Regions from separate parts of the Homo sapiens genome. Here region 2 is linked to region 1. Evidence: promoter capture Hi-C in human tissues and cell types (Jung and others, 2019). All regions are on one chromosome and are shown on one strand. The core of a region is centred on a gene start or on the middle of the fragment in contact, and the rest is flanking DNA. Distances in the headings are between cores, read along the strand shown.

Region 1 (2,721 bases), core at 80-2,579:
CATGACCCACCGCGCCCGGCCTGGACTTTCTTTTAAAAGCGGCTAGAGGGCCAGGCGTGGTGGCTCAAGCCTGTAATCCCAGCACTTTGGGAGGCCGAGGTGGGGGGGTGGGGGTGGGGTGGATCACCTGAGGTCAGGAGTTCGAGACCAGCCTGACAAACATGGTGAAACCCCGTCTCTACTAAAAATACAAAAATTAGCCAGGAGTGGTGGCAGGCGCCTGTAATTCCAGCTACTCGGGAGGCTGAGGCAGGATAATCGCTCGAACCCGGGAGGTGGAGGTTGCAGTGAGCCAAGACTGTGCCATTGAACTACAGCCTGGGCAACAAGAGCGAAACTCCTTCTCAAAAAAAAAAAAAAAAAAAAAAAGTGGTTAGAGTACTAGCCAGGGGGAAGCAAGCACATTTGAAAAATATAGTGTGTATGCTTTAGGATAGGGAGGAATGGAGAGAGAGAGGAGGACATGGACCGGGGTGGAAAAATGTGGGGTTTCGCATTGATTTTTGGTGTGAGCTTGAACAAGTTTTGTACTAAAAAAAATGCCTGTTTTACTACTAAAATAAGTGCTTCCTTTGGAGAGTGAGGATCCTCTGTTACTGAGGTTTGTATTTTCAGGCCCTAGCATATAAATCTGCTACATACGAGATATTCAACTGGTTTTGGAGGAATGAAGGTGAACATGGCAGTTTCCTCATCTGTAAAAGCAGGGTTTGGACGAAATGATCTGCAAAATGGGTCTTTTTGTACTCTTACTACTCTAGTATTTACGAGTAACCGATGTTATTCCTTATAAAGTCTCAACTCCTGGTTTGAGCCATGTCTGACGAGGGGGCCTAACTCCAATACCACCCTGAACACTCTGGGGTCAGTGGGACCCTGTTTGTACAGACGTCTGCGTCTTCCGGCTCTTTAGGACATAAGCAGTACTGCTATGGAAGAAAGGAAACCTAATTTCCCATGCCTTGTCCCTTTCTGGAAAGGGCATGGCGTGGTGTGGGCACCACACCTGCCCCAGCCTTCTAGCAAGAAAACAACACAACCTTCCCCGCTCCCCGAAAAGAGCTTCTCTCCAGTTGGGTCTAGATGCCCCCTTCCCAACCAGGGCGGATGGCCAAAGGCTCCGCTCCCTTGCAGGGTAGGCTTGGAAAGGCACGGGGCCCGCCTTCCTGGGCACCGGAGCCTGTGACGGGCGGAGGGCGTGCGGCGCGCTGGGTTAGTTACCTGGCGCTGGGCGGGGCAAGCGGGAGGCGGGGGCGGGGCCGGGGTGACATCTCAGGCTGTGATTGGGCCGCGCCGCGCCTGTCTCCATGTGCCGCGCAGCTGAGGCACAACATTCAAGCCCGGGGGTGGGGCCGGCGCGCGCCGGGAGGAAGCGGCCGCGCGGCAGCTGCGGGGCGTGGGGGTGGTGGTGGCGGCGGCGGTGGTGGCGGCGGCGGCGGCGGCGGCAGCTGAGGCCGAGGAGGCGGTGGCTGTGGCGGACGCAGCAGCACCCCAGCTAGGGACAGGGCTCCGCCGCGCCCCCTTGCTGGCCCCATGGAGGCGGCAGCGGCGGCGGCGGCGGCGGCAGCGGCAGCGGCAGCGGCGGGCGGGGGCTGTGGCTCCGGGCCGCCGCCGCTGCTGCTGAGCGAGGGCGAGCAGCAGTGCTACTCCGAGCTCTTCGCGCGCTGTGCCGGCGCCGCGGGCGGGGGCCCCGGGTCTGGGCCCCCCGAGGCCGCCAGAGTCGCCCCCGGCACGGCCACTGCGGCCGCCGGCCCCGTGGCTGACCTGTTTCGGGCATCGCAGCTGCCCGCCGAGACGCTGCACCAGGTGGGTCCCTCCGCCTCCTGTCCCTGCGGGTCTGTGGGGCAGTGTGTGCGGGGGCGGAGGTTGCGAGTGGGGCGACAGGGCTGCCCCCAGGGACCCGGAGGCCTCGGCCAGTTCTGAGAGAGAGGACTCTGCAGCCGGGGATGGCGGCGACGCCCTTGTCCCCGGGGGACACCAGCCTCCTTCGCAGCTCAGCTCCTCGCCCAGTGCTGGGTGCGCTCTCCCCATCTTCCTTCCCTGAGACAGTCTGACACTCTCTCCCCTCCCCCGGCCATTTCTGGGGTTCTGCAGCCGCCCAGACCCAAAGTTTGTCCTGTTCTGGAAGTGGTGTTTGTTTTGGCTGCTGCCTGGTTTAACCTCTGCTCGCTGCTCCTGCCCCTCCCTCTCCTGAGTGGGTTCTCAGGGTGCCTTGCTGGGATTTCAACTTGAAGGGTGTGTGTGTCCGTAGGGTTCGAGGCCCAGGGCTGAATGTTGTCCTCTCTATGTAGTTGTAATATATAAGTATCTACTATATGTAATTGCCCATAACATATTTCTAAATATTAATATTAAATCGAAAACCTTAATGACAAGTTGCAGAACAGGGACACGGGACTGCAAGAGGACGTTTGTCAAGTCAAAACCAAATTTCCCATTTGAGATTAGAGGTGGACTTCAGAAGTCCACCATGGGAAACAGCTGTAGTTTCCCATCTATCATTACTTGGACTTGAAATAGAATTGAAAGGTAAGGGATGTCATAGCTACCACCTTTTGGCTGTTCTATACTTGGAAAAGTACTAGGGGATGATACATACCAGACGCTGTTTTTGTTTTGTGCTTTCCTTGGAGCTTGGAGAAAGACTACTTGATAAGCCTTTGTCTGTCATTTCATGTCACCAGCACTTCATGGTGATAAGACTGTTAATATCAGGTTCAA
Region 2 (2,721 bases), core at 60-2,559, 47 kb after region 1:
ATGTGCTTGAATGCTAGCCAAAGTATAAGGTGAATGGTAGATGCAAGGACTGGGCGGTTTCCATGGAGACTTCTTGCAGGAGCCTTTCCTTTCTCAGTTCAACAGTTGTCAAGGAAACATCTAGTTTCAATTAAATAAATGTTTGTGGGGTCTGCCAATTTGAGTGTCTCTTGGAAGGGGATTTGGTTAAACTTCTTAAACATCGTAATAAACAAATTCAGAGCAGAGGCTTTTTAGGTTCCCTTCCAGTTATATTAGGTTTTTCTGTAACTTAGGGATGTTAACTAGTCCTCTGTCTGAAGTGATCAGACTATTTATTCATATCCAGAAAATATTATTTTTGAGTCTTGTGGGGAGGAAAACTGAGGCTTAAAGAAAGAGAGGCCAAAGCCAGGGAGCTGGTGTTACATGGCACCAGCTATATATACATGACTATAGTCCATGCTCTTTAGTACGTCCTGCAGGATAAGAGATCCAAGGGGCCTGACCTTTACAAACTGTTTACAGGCTATGGAGTTTGCTGGCTCAGCACTGTGTGTTTATTGCTTCTAGTTAGCTATTGTTGTATCAGTGGCTGGAGTTGGTGATGGTTCACGGAAATAGTGGTGAGAGTACAGATTCTAGGTATATGCAATTCTAATAAATGAGACTTCCCTAGTGTTATCTGTATTGTGACAGCCTCCCCATTGTGCTCTTTATCAAACAGTAAGGTATGGTATATTGCAAAATGCTCACAATACTTTGCAACTCTTCCCATCAAGAGGTAGAGTCAGTTTCTCTATTCTTAGGATCTTGGCTGTCCTGTTGATTTGGTCTGACCCTGGAATACAGTAGAAAAGACCCTGTGTGGGTTTTGATCCTAGGCGTGAGGTAGAGCTTCAGTTTCTTGCTGCTTTGGGAACTCTGCCACCTTGTAAAAAAAGCCCTGGCTGGCCTCCTGGAGGAAGAGAGACTATGTGGAGGAAAATGAAGGTACCCAGACAACCCAATAGTCAACTGCAGAAGCATAAGTGACCCTCATCTGAGATCAATGGTGCCTGGCTCGGATCAGTATAATTGTCCAGCTGAACTCAGCCCAAATTACTGACCCCCAGAGTTATGAATTAAATAAATGCTGTTGCTTTAAGGCACTTAAGTTTTGGGGTGGTGTGTTATACAGTAGTAGATAATTGATACAGCCAAGTTTGGAAGCTCTGGAATGATCAGGGCTCACCTTTGACCTGTCCTCTATAAAACCCAGGATTCTTAGTAACACAGTCCTGTTAATAACAGAACTTGCCTATGGCAAATCTAAGCGGAAAAGCAGTTTATTGGCAGGATATTGTGTAGCTACATCTTTCTTTAGGAAGACCAGGGACAAGGCTTGAAAACTGCACAACTAGGGGGCAGTACTGCCAGAACTACAGCCAGATAACCTCACAGAATTGGTAGCTACTGAATATTGGATGCCTCCACCTACACCACCAACATTGCCTGCATTGGACATTGGGTATGGGGCTGCTCCTGGAACTGGATGTTGTTCCTGTCACTAGAAAACAATCATCTACTGTTCTTGCTGTTTCACAGCACTCATTACTGATTCAGATGCCCGTGTGCCACGTGTTTATAGCAGTGCAATTTGTAATTGCAAAAATAGGGAACCAGCCCAAATGCCCATCAATCGAGTGGATAAAGAAAATATATCAAAAATATATTTTATATGTGTGTGTGTATGTATATGTGTGTATATATGTGTGTATGTATATGTGTGTATATATACACACACGTACATATATATACATATATATACACACACGTACATATATATACACACACGTACATATATATGCACACACACATATATATACACACACGTAACATTTATAATACGCCATGGAATACTACTCAGCCATAAAAAGGAATGAAATAATAGCATTTGCAACAACGTGGATGGAGTTGGAGACCATTATTCTAAGTGAAGTGACTCAGGAATGGAAAACCGAACGTTGTATTTTCTCACTTATAAGTGGGAGCTAAGCTATGAGGATGCAAAGGCATAAGAATGAAACAGTGGACTTTGGGGCCTCAGAGGGAAGGGTGGGAGGTGAGGGATAAAAGACTACACATTGGGTACAGTGTACACTGCTCGGCTGATGAGTACCTCAAAATCTCAGAAATCAGCACTGAAGAACTTAACTCATGTAACCAAATACCATCTGTTCCCCCAAAGCTATTTAAATAATAATAAAAACAAAAACAAATGCCTGTGTGGGTGGTGTCTGGCAGAGCGTAGGTCTTGTGCCCATACCCTGATTGAAAAGAAATCAGGAAAGTGAGAATCTGACACTTTTAGCTTATTTAGCTGAAAGCAGGTGGAAAATTTCATAAACACTGGCAAAGGGTTCGGATAACAGGCAGCCAAAAGAAAAATGGCAAATGTTCATTAGTTTCTGTTGTATACTCTGGTTAGCTCAGTTGGTTACAGCACAGTTATGATGAAGCCAGCATTGTGGTTTGTTCTTAAGTTTTATTGAAAGAAAATAGTTCTGAGATTGTCCCCCTTACACCTGCTCCCTCTCTCACAGATGTGTGCTGATAGCCATTTGTAAGGCCAGGCAATAGTGGGGCCTAACTTGCATCTGTCTCTGGCTGCTAAGGTACAAAGATTATGTGTCTTTCAGTTGGTGGGCCCAGAGACTCCATTCACTGGCATAGTGTGCCACATAAGAGAACTGAATGAAT

The links. The method cuts DNA at HindIII sites, captures the fragments that hold promoters and counts their contacts. A contact is called where the count stands out against the background at its distance.
Region 2: a fragment that was not itself captured here is called in contact with the fragment with the promoter of REPS2 in region 1 in 1 of the 25 tissues and cell types used here (hippocampus).

The regions. Positions count from the first base shown.
Region 1 is chrX:16,945,329-16,948,049 of GRCh38, forward strand. REPS2 (RALBP1 associated Eps domain containing 2) reads left to right here and starts at 1,330. Exons shown (of 18, transcript NM_004726.3): 1 at 1,330-1,806. The coding sequence starts at 1,534. The HindIII fragment of the contact is 7,319 bases long and covers 1-2,721 here.
Region 2 is chrX:16,992,594-16,995,314 of GRCh38, forward strand. All of the region lies in intron 1 of REPS2 (RALBP1 associated Eps domain containing 2), which reads left to right. Among named protein-coding and RNA genes, the nearest start is that of REPS2, 47 kb to the left of the region's middle. The HindIII fragment of the contact is 9,956 bases long and covers 1-2,721 here.